Linked DNA regions of Homo sapiens: region 1 is linked to region 2. The links are contacts of gene promoters, found by promoter capture Hi-C in human tissues and cell types (Jung and others, 2019). All regions are on one chromosome and are shown on one strand. Each heading gives the region's core, a stretch centred on a gene start or on the middle of the fragment in contact. The rest is flanking DNA. Distances are from core to core; before and after follow the strand shown.

Evidence for each region. Contacts are between HindIII fragments. The study calls those that stand out against the background at their distance.
Region 1: a contact is called between a fragment that was not itself captured here and the fragment with the promoter of ARNT2 in region 2, in 1 of the 25 tissues and cell types used here (hippocampus).

What each region holds. Positions count from the first base shown.
Region 1 is chr15:80,068,083-80,073,431 of GRCh38, forward strand. All of the region lies in intron 1 of ZFAND6 (zinc finger AN1-type containing 6), which reads left to right. Among named protein-coding and RNA genes, the nearest start is that of ZFAND6, 11 kb to the left of the region's middle. The HindIII fragment of the contact is 4,965 bases long and covers 1,174-5,349 here.
Region 2 is chr15:80,401,465-80,407,343 of GRCh38, forward strand. It overlaps ARNT2 (aryl hydrocarbon receptor nuclear translocator 2), which reads left to right and starts at 2,918. Exons shown (of 19, transcript NM_014862.4): 1 at 2,918-3,082. The coding sequence starts at 3,052. It overlaps ARNT2-DT (ARNT2 divergent transcript), which reads right to left and starts at 2,732. Exons shown (of 6, transcript NR_184070.1): 1 at 2,527-2,732; 2 at 2,038-2,121. RefSeq lists an enhancer at 2,349-2,849. The HindIII fragment of the contact is 10,967 bases long and covers 1-5,879 here.

The DNA.
Region 1 (5,349 bases), core at 2,406-4,905, 330 kb before region 2:
TCCCAAGTAGCTGGGACTACAGGCGAGCACCACCGCGCCTGGCCTGTTTTTTTTTTTTTTGTTTGTTTGTTTGTTTGTTTTTGAGACATGGTGTTGCCTTTGTCGCCCAGGATGGAGTGCAGTGATGTGATGTTGGCTCACTGTAGTCTCAACCTCCCTGGCTCAAGGGATCCTCCCACCTCAGCCTCCTAAGTAGCTGGGACTACAGGCGCGCCACCATGCCTGTATAATTTTTAAAAATTTTTAAAATTTTTTGTAGAGATGGGGTTTCACTGTGTTGCCCAGGCTGGTCTTGAACTTTTTTTTTGAGATGGAGTCTCGCTCTGTTGCCCAGGCTGGAGTACAGTGGCACGATCTCGGCTAACTGCAGCCTCCAGCCCCCGGGTTCAAGTGATTCTCCTGCCTCAGCCTCCGGAGTAGCTGGGATTACAGGCGAGTGCCACCACGCCTGGCTAATTTTTGTATTTTAAGTAGAGACTGGGTTTCGCCATATTGGCCAGGCTGGTCTCGAACACCTGACCTCAGGTGATCCGCCCACTGTGGCCTCCCAAAGTGCTGGGATTATAGGCGTGAGCTACCGCGCTCAGCCGGTCTTGAACTTTAGAGCTCAAGTAATCTGTCTGCCTTGGCCTCTGAAAGTCTTGGGATTACAGGCGTGAGCCACCGTGCCCAGCCAATTTTTAAATTTCAATGTGACTACTAGGAAATAGAAAACCACATGTGGCTCTCATTATGTTTCTGTGAGACAGCACTGGTCTGACTCGACCATAAGTTTGTACAGTGGTAGGGACTATATCCATTTTATTTACTGTGGTATCTTCAGCGCATAACAGACGTTCAAAAGATTTGGTGAATGAATAAACTAACTCTGTTAACTTTTGAATGTTATTGCATAGTTTACAGAGAATGTTACCTATTCAGCTTTTGCTTTTCAGAATTGTTTTCTTTGTGACTGATTAAAATGGTTGAGAAAAGCTCTTTCAGTAACTATATAAAGAATGAGTCTTCGTCTTTTATGTAATATTTTATTTATTTTTTTCTGGTTTAGGCCTCCAAGGAGAGAGAGAATTTAAAGTTGGCCAGTCTATTTTCTCTTAGTTTTTCTATGTCTAGCACTTTTTCTTAGATGATCTATGATATGTTGTTTGGCACATGAAAATTTATGACTTAAAATCTTAATAGTTGAGTATTATAAATGCCTTCTCTTTTATTTTTGTCTCACTATTGTGATCCCTGTTTCTTTTTATTTTGCATTAATCAGTGACCTTGTTTATCCCTTGAGACCTAAAACAAAGCAATGTACTGTTTTTTTGTAGAAAGATACCTTATCCTATCGGCTTGGTTTATGCTTGCTTATTTGTATGTTTCCTTAATGTTTCCTTTGTGTTCAGTGTTTGACCTCATATGCCATTCATTCAAACTCCCCAACTCCTCATACACACCTTGTAATCTTTTCCCTAAGGAGTCAGGAGAGATACACCAGGAATTGCAGGCTCAAATATATCTTACTTTTGCCAGGGAAATATTTTTTTTATTTTTTGTTATTTATTTATTTATTTATTTATTTAGAGACAGAGTCTTACTCTATAGCCCAGGCTGGAGTGCAATGTCTGCTGCCCGGGTTCAAGCAATCCTCCTGCCTCAGTCTCCCAAGTAGCTGGGATTACAGGCACCTGCCACTGCACGAGGCTAATTTTTGTAGTTCTAGTAGAGACGGGGTTTCACCATCTTGGCCAGGCTGGTCTTGAACTCCTGACCTTGTGATCCACCTGCCTCTGCCTCCGAAAGTGCTGGGATTTACAGGCGTGAGCCACCACACCTGGCCATATTTTTTTATTTTTTATTCCCCATTGAGGTGTTTTTCAGAGTTTATCCTTAGTGATCCCAGTTATGTTTTGCTAATGTCAGGGTGGTCTTTTTATCAACTACTACAATAAACCACCAGTCGTGCCAGAGAAAATGCCCAGGATTAATTTCTTTTGTAGGAAGAGCAGTTTGAACTATATGGAATCCTTCAAAATTCTAAGAAAGTGTTTGCCCTGTTCTGTATATATTCTGCCAAAAGTTGTTCCTAATAGTCTAGATATTGATTCTTTATGTAAGTAGGGTCTTTTTAATCAAAAGTGAAGTGGGACCAAATTGTTCAGTGGCTTGTTCTCTTCTAAATTGTTTTTAGCTGATAAGATTTGGGAAACTTTCTGGGCTTCCACAAATAATATACAATACATCTTTGAATACTTGATGCTTAAAAAGTGTTGTTACTGCATGCAATCAGGGAGCTCCAGAGCTTTTTGCAGGCTCCTTGTTCCTGAGAAGCAATATTGTTTTCATATTATCTCGGTTATACATTTTATGGTTGTGACATTGCTTTCTTTTTGTTTTTGCTGTTGTTTTCTGCTGCTGCTGATTTAGAAATGAAATAAGCTAACTCTTAATTTTAACCTGTTTGCTACCTAAAATGGTAATCATCTTGATGTTCTTTCAAGCAGGTCCCAGAGATCTTAAAATGATCCGGAATCACTGAGTCCACAGTTCTCTTTTCTCTTGGTTATGTATAGATGGAGAGTGGTCTTGGTGTTATATTAGTGTATGATTCGTATTTGTTTCATAATTAACTTCGAAGTGAAAAATTGATGCGAGAGCAAAGGTTTATTTGGTTTCCATAACTATTTACTAATTTTATGCTTGCCAGATTTTAAGATTAAACTGTTTGCCATCTCTTTTTTTTTTCTTCCCGTAAAACCTTTGGCCATCTACAGTCACTTTTCCTCAAATCTTATGCTGTAATTCAAACTGTATATTCTTTTTGCTGATTGCTTCTGTACCTCCTCTGCTTCCAGTGTTCTTTTGCAAGAGTGTCCACACAGTGGGAAGAAAACCTGAACTTGACTCATGAAGTGCTGGGCATTCAAAACAGTGAATCCTTGCAAAGGATCTTGGGAGTAGACCCCTGTGAATTGGCTCTTTCAATTTGTCCACTTAAAGGGCATAATAGATTATGCAGCTGTTTGGGCTTCAGCAGGGTATTGCTCCATATTCATGCCTAGTTGCAATTATGTGAATTTTCAGTTTGTTACAAAGACTTCCCTTTGTATTCAAAACAATTTTGTTGGCTTTGTGTTCTAATATTTGAGTTTTCTCTGAGGAAAAATAGTTGCAAGATTTTGAACTTTGAAAACTTCAAATTAAAATGTTTAAAGGTTTTGTCACTTTTTATTTTCTGATGCAAACCATACATTGAAAGCATATTTTAAGAAGAAGTCACTCTAATAAGCTTTAATTTCGAGTTTATGAATCACAGGATTTTTGGTAGAGGTAAAAACTATACTTACACCGTAAATTAGACATTAAATGCCATTTAATCAGTCAGATAATGATTAATGTTAGAGTAATGTTTGATGGGCCAAGCTGCTAAAACATAAGCAGTTCTAATTAAAATATATAAACTTATCACGTAAAAATAGCAAACTTAGTAATGTATAAAGTGACAGTAGGTCTTTTTTGCTTAAAAATCAGAGTTCCTGTGTAGTGTCTCTTTATGATCTCTGTAGTAAAAATATTATTTAACGTAGCTTAGTGAGAAGTTTAAGAGGAGTATACCTTTTACTTTAGGGTGCCCATGCCACTTTGAAGTTATGGAGTGCAAAGTAGTTTCCACACATTAAAAAAAAAAAAAAGATGAAAAAGACTTAAACTTTTCTAAATTTTATACCTGAACATGTCATTAGAACATGTGCCTTTTGCTTTTAGATATCTGTTTGCCAATGGTTAAGCATTAACCTTGGCAAAATACTCACATGTCAGATCTGTTAAATGTAATAGTATTTCTGCCCAGTATTTTCTTCAGTTTTAAGTAGAAATATCAACCTTTGATGTCACTGAAATTTCTACTCTGTTGTGATACTGAGAACATAAATGTCAGTGAGTTTGATAGCTTAGAAGTGAATCTTTTGCATTCAGTATTTTAGTGCTGTATATTTTCACTTAAGTTATAGTTTTCTCTTTAAGTCTTAGAAAAAAACATTGGTTTGTTCCTCTTAGCAACATATTGTAATGGATTTTCTGTTGCCGTTTTACAATTTTCAGGTAAAATGTGAACTCTATTAAAAATAATCTGTCTTTAAAGCATAACTTCACCTTCATTGCTCCATAAAAATAAATGATTTAGATTAAAAGCATTGTATTTTAAACAATTGGTCACAGCTGCTTCTGTGAGATTTTCATTTTTGTTACTTAGTTTATTTTTCACCTAGACAAGGGTAAGCAAACAGTATATGATGGGAAAACTGAAACCTTATGTACTGTTTCTTTAAGAAACCAGCTTATCCAGGAGGTTTTAGTGTGTCTAACCTAACCTGCTAGCAAGGAAAAGTTCTTTAAAATAATGGATATTAGCCGTATCCAATCACAATTATCAGTTTCACTAACAGGGAGGAGATTTTACTCTTCAGCCACTAGAATTGGAGAAGGTGGAGCTTGGTATTCAGGTTTGGTTGCTTTGGAGTACAGCTTCAAGTGAAGTTAATCTGAGGTGAAGCAAACAGAAAATTGTGGAGGTTTTGTTGGTAGGATTTTTGTTCTAATCTTTTTATGATCCTTTATTTTATAATTTTGCTCCTTTATGATTCTGTGTGTGCTAGGTTTTGTCACTGTTTTTATTTTCTGATGCAAACTGAACACTAAAATTAAGCAGGGAAGCAGAACAAAAGGGCTCTTTGGACAGGAAATAGGTGTTCAGAGAATCAAACTTGACTTTCTCCTATCATTATTTTTAGTTCAGAATATGAGTGTCATTAAAACATCTTAGACTCAAAATCATCTCCAATAACAGGATTTTTTTTTGAATTGGTTGTTTGAACAGTCAGTTGTCAGTTTTTATAAATGACATCTTGAGGAGGTTCATTTGATATGTCATTTTCCTTAAACTTAAAATGTTAAGTTGCTGAAAGATAAATGTGATAGGCTTAAATACGTCTTTTTTAGTAAATTGAAATGCCAACTGTTTAATTTTTTTAACCCCAGCACAGCACCCCTTTTAATTTCAGTATATTTTAATTTAACAATATGTTGACATTTTTAATATGCTTATAATTTTTAATATGCTCATAATTAAAAAGGCCATTGATGAACAAAGTGAAACTGCTTTCTTCTTACTTCATTCAAACTCTTCATTTCTTTCAAAGGTGGAGATAAGTAATTAACATTTCGAAACAGGAAATGAAAGGATTTATATTTTTAAAAGCTATAGGTAGGCTACTACAACTTTTTTTTAAAGTATCTGATTCTATTTACATTTCTTATTTATGACGTAATTGTAGTGTATTTCAGTACAAGAATATTTTTTAGAGA
Region 2 (5,879 bases), core at 1,668-4,167:
CTGTGGACCCTGGTACACATTAGCACAGCAGCTGGTCAACTCTGGTCATTTCTAGGAGCGCTGTGCTCAGAATCGTGTGCTATGGGCCCGGTGGATCTGCATTAATCTTTTCAAAAATGCAAATCTCAGCTTCAAATTCAACAGCCTCCTCTGGAATTTCAAAGAGTTCTGGGTTGTTTAAAGGTTGAGTGGAATTCCTGAGCCTGTGTTAACTGGTCACAGTCTACTGACTCTCATAATTAGCGCAAGACCACTGTGTTGTGTAAATGCCACTCAGTATTCAACAATGACTAACCACTCCATTTCAGATTGTTTACTTAAGTGGGGGGCTTTCATCCACAATCAGTGTTTCTGAGCATTTAACCTATTTAATACTGAGAGACGAGAGAGAAGGCGAGTTGCCCATTTCTCTATTTCTTCCCCTACACCCTAACCGCTCCCCAACTCCAGCCACCAAATCCCAGTATTGTGCGTAGCCCAGTTCTAAGTCTTGTCTGGCTATTAAGCTGCATGACGTTGGCTACCCTGAGCCTCAGTTTCCTTATCTGCAAACTCCAGGGGCAGAATTGGATGATGTCGAAGGTCCTTTCTACCTCTGAAATACACTGACTGGGGGAGAAGATGAAATGTCTCCTTTGTGAAAATCTAAACGTATTTATTACGTACCAAAAACCACAGCACGGCCGACTCCAGACTTGGGAAGTGTCTAGCAGTTGTCCACGTGTCGCCTGTCTTTTATTGCAATGGACCAGTGCAAGAAGTAGGAAGCTTGAGCAAGATCCAGTTTTAAAGATATCAGCCGAGTAACATTTAGAAAAATGGGCAGAACACAACAGCAGAGTAAGAAAGTAAAACTTGTCAACAAATTTGTATGGTTAAATGTGTGTGTGCGTAAGAGTCATGTTCACTCATATTTTATTTTTTAGGGATGATATTAGAACTGTATTTGGAGACAAAATGAGCCATGGGTCCTGGCTGAAATGCTAAACTGATACATAAACACCAAGGAGAGGAACTTGCTTCCTTCTAAGGGGTGTGGAAAGTTGGAGAATAAAAGAGCCTCGTGGGATAGGGGGCAGTGATGCCAAGTGCTATTTATGGGCTATTTATGGGCCACCAGAGATTGAACTGCCTGTGGGGAGAAGGATCCAGAAGGGACTCTGGGTAGCAGAAATATCTGAGATGGAGTTTTACCTTTTTTGATGTGGAGTGAGTGAAGAGAGCCTCCTCTTTTACTTTCCTTAAGAAATCTTCAGTCCAGTATACGTTATACATTAATTAAGTTGGTATTTTGAGTGTGTTGCTTTTCGGGGTATGTAGAAGAGAGGCTGAATTCTCATTTGGCTTGATGTTGGAATCAGGAACAGTCAACTTTGATACGGGGCACAAGAGCGGGCCATAGCTGATACCCTGGTTTCTCTGTCTGGGCCTGGCCTATCTTGTGGCTGGGTGCACACCTGCTTTATTTTTTACTTGAAATGTCTTCTTTTTCCACCTGTCCTACTCATGTCTTCAAAGCCTAATTTTCATTTTCCCTGATCACTCCACCTCCTCTCTGCCCTCATTCATTCATTAGTGACTACAGGCTGGAGATGCCAATTTCAGGGCTTCTGCCCTAAGCCCCCAAGGGAGCTGTGTGCTTCTTGAGTGCAGATACTTTGTTTCACTCTTCCCCACTCTACCCCCCAAACCAGAAGAACAGAGCTCCTGTTTCTTCCTTTCCATGGTAGGCCCAACACCTGGCTTTGTGCCTGGCACACAGCAGACATTCAACATTTGTAGAACTGATAGACTATTAGATTAGTAGTGACAAATACTCCCCGAAGAAAATGCTTATTTGAACATACATCCCAAATTTTCTGCCCTCCAGAAAATGCTTCCTTGGAAGGATTTAAGACAGTTTGATGTCTCTGCAAACATTATCTGCGTTTAGGGACCAACTTGCCCTTCTCAGCGTTCACCTGGGATGTCTTTATTCTTCCATTTAACCTTTACAGGGGACCCCGATGGTGACGTGTCCTTCCTAGGGGCCATTACCTCTCTCAGGGATCCTAGTGTCTGGTAGAAAACAACAGCTCCAAGTTCTCTGCATCCAAACTTCGCCAGGATACGCAGATAAACCTATTTAAAAAAAAAAATCTTTTTAAATTCTCAACTTGGTGGTGTAAATAAGGCCCTTGCAGCGCCCTCAAGTAATAATCAACGGCAGTCATTATGGAAGGAGGGTAGAGATGAGCGCCTTACTCAAAGCCAAGACATTCACAATTTCTCGGGCCGGCTGCCTGTGCCTGGGCGTGTGCACTGTGCACTCCGAAGCTGTGTGCGGCGGTGGCCTTGGAGGTGCGCGTGGCCTTAGGAATTCCCGCGGTCGGGCACCCTCCGCTTAACACCGGGCCGTGTCCCCGGCCTGGGAGCCGAGCAGCGCGGCTCTGGCATGCTAAGTGGGCAGCACTGGGGCGCCTTTGTTCCTCGCGGCCGTCTCCCAGGACCGGCTTCCCTCTGAATCTAAATGGGCTTCTCCCTCACCCGCTCCGCCCTGGCCTCCTGGCCTGGGCACGGCGCCCCTGGGTAAAGCGCGCCCGGACACCTGGGGCGTGGGCGTGCGGGGGCAGCCCGGGCTAGGCGAGCGCGGGAGAGGCGCCTGCGGTCCCAGCCCGGCCAGGCCCGAGCACCTGCGCGAGCCCGAGGGAGCGCCCGGCCCTCTGCCCCCGCCAGTCGCCGGCGCCCAACTTGGGGGTCCCGCCGTCCGCAGCCCCAAGTCTCGCGGTGCTACCGCTCTGACCGGGGAGCCGCGGGCCGGGCGCCCCCCGCCGCGCGACAAAGGCTGAACCGGGAGGAGGAGGCCGAGGAGGGGGAGGAGGAGGAGAGAAAGGCGGGGACGGCGAGCGGCCGCGGCGGCGGGGAGAGCGGAGGGAGCGCCGCCCGCCCGCGCCGTCCTTTGTGTGGCGGCGGCGGCGCCTGGGCCTGACCGGGTCCCCGGGGCTGAGCGCCGGGCTCCGCGCCGCCCCTCCCGCGCCCCTGCCAAGCGGGCGCCTATCCTCTCCGAGCAAGATGGCAACCCCGGCGGCGGTCAACCCTCCGGGTGAGTAGCGGCCTGGGCCCCGCCGCCCGCCGCAGCCCGCAGGCCTTGCCCGGGGCCGGAGCGGACCAGGCGCGCCGGGCGCCCCCGGGGGCGCGGAGCCGCAGCTCGGCGCGGTGGGTGGTGGAGCGGCTGTCACTACGCGGCAGCCGCAGCATCAGCACCAGAGCGGCATCTGCATCCCAATCGCTGCCCATCCGGTCCCGGGCAGGCGCCGGTCCGGACCCGCGGGCGGCCGGACGCTGGCCTCGCATCCTCGGGAACCCGAAGGGCAGGCCCGGGAGCCCCCGAAGTTCTGAAAATAACCGCCTTTGCCTTCCCCATCCCACGCATTTTTCTCTTCCGGTCCCGGCTTTTGTGGCATCACGGCGTCAGCCAGTCCTGGCTGGTGGAGGGCTCCGCGCTGACGGAGGGAAAAGTTTGGAGCTGGGATTCAACAGGGTACAACTCCCGGGACTCTCCCCTGCCCGCCCCGCCCACTAAGCGCTGGTCCTTTGCGCCCTTTGCGACTGGCTGCTGTGTGTCCTAACCCTCCGGGGGCACAAAACACCCAGCCTGTGGTCACCAGCGTGGAGCAGCCCTGGTCCTGCCCAGGTGACATCCTCTGCTTTCTGGTCTGACCTGTCCCCAGGGTGCAGTCTGTGACAACTGAGCTCATTAGGAAATATTTCAAAAATGGAAGAGTTCTTGATCAAGTGGCAACATTGACTTGTTTTGGTATTGTAGTAGGGAAGTTCCGTTTTCACTGGGAAAGTTCCCTACCTGATGAGCAGGGTGTGGGAGAAGAGAAACGTGAACATCTAAGCTAGTACAAACTTTTGGGTGTTGTGCAGAGGCTGCTGTGGGCACGGCAGGTTGCTGGGTCCCTGTGGAAGATGCAGGGAGAGTCACAGAGGGCGGCCCCCAGGAAATTCCCAGCAGAGGGAGGTCATGTGTTGGAGATAGGGAGGGTCGGGGGAGGAACAGCAATGCCTAGCAAAGAAAAGTGTCTCTCATCATAGAATTAGGAATGAAAGATCCCTTTCATCTAAGGCGGCCAGGGAAGGCTTCTGGAGATTGGACATTTCGGCTGAACCTTGAAAACGGGAATGTTTGAATATACAGAGCCAGTAGCAGAGGGGCATTGCAGGCGTAAGTAACAGTGGACTTGCTCTAAGCAAGTGCAGAGGTCAGTGAGTAGTTGGTGCACTGGGGATATAAGAGGCAGCAGTGGGATTTAACACTGAGTTGTTTGGATGTGACCAGGCTTTAAAGGACAGACTGAGGAGTATGGACTTTCTCTCTCCACATTAAGGGAGAGTCCTCTGCACACTTCCTAAGAACCAGAAAAATAAAATAAAATAGAAAAGAGAGAGAGAGACAGAGAGAGAGAGAGAGAGACCTCAATGGTATTGAACAAGGAAATCGCATGATCACTTTTTCTGGAAGACTGATTTGTCAGCTATGTCTAGGAAACATTCTAAGGAGGGAACAAGACTTGAGACAGGGAGGCCAGCATGAAATGAGGCAGGTGCTGGGGAGGCCAGAATTGGTGGCCATGGCTGGACCAGAGAGGAAGGAATGCACCACTGGGCGGGTAGAAGAGTTCCAGATTTGGCACTGATTAGATTTGGAGTAAGAGTAAAGGAGGAGGCCAAGGAGAGACAAAGGGGAGGTGTCCATGGAGACACCAAGGTGAAGAGCCTGTGTAATTCCAAGGAAGGCAGTTCCATCAGCAGAAATAGGGACTCTTGGAAGAACAGACAAGGAGGCCTCTGTCCAGAACACTGAGGAGGAACGTGGCTGGTCTGAAAACAAATCTGTGCCAGTTTGCCTGTGACTGAAGCTGCAATTTCAACCCATTCAACTACTTCAAAATCAATGGAAAATTGATAGATGTAAATGTTATGAAATTAGAAAAAGCAAAAGATGTTAAATGAAAACATTTTAGTCCAATATACACTGGGAACAGGAATAAAATCCCTGGTGATTTACATAATTTCTATGCCAGGACATCATTGTTTAAAACTTTTTTGTCCATTACATTGCTCCATGAGCTACATGGACTAAAGATCTAAAGATGGAGTAACTGCCCCTGGCCCCGTGGTGTGAAGCACAGGAAAGCCTGTGCCTGTGCCTTGGACTGCGGGAGACTTGAATGGTACAAGCATAGGGTATTGTTGGCGTTGCTAGTCAACACCTGGCCAGCTTGACAGATGCTTTTCTCTGTTGACAGCTATACCAGAGATCTTCAGCATGGTGATAATTTCTCAAGGGAAAATTCCTTGAGGTGATCACCTTTCCTTTTACCATCATTTCTTTTACTGGTCCCCTGAGGATGATCCGTGGGGATGTGTTATTATTGCCCCATGTGAATCTCCATCTTTTTCTTTGGGAGAAAGGGTTTAATTTTAAGGGACATGGCTCAGGGTTTGAGCCAAAGAGAGAGAGTTCAGATTCTATGGGCAATTTACAACAAAAAGAGCCATGGTACCCAAGCTTGTCACCCAGAGCCTACCTCACATGGGCTTGTGAGACTTCTTTGAATTCCTTTTTCTTCCTGCCTCCTTTCCCCAGATATGGTTGCTTTGCAAAGAATAAGAGCTTGGTAAACAGAACCAAATGGATGGGGAAGCACCAGGATTTATTTCTGCTGCTAGTTCGTGTCCAGGGTACAAAGGCCACAGCCAGTCACCTCCCCACGCCCCCACTTGTTCCTTTTTTCCCAGCTGACCACTTCACAACAGCAGAACCATTTACAATGACACTCTTCTGTGATGTGTAGTGGGGATTCTCTAGGGTCTTGTTGGTGACCGGTGAT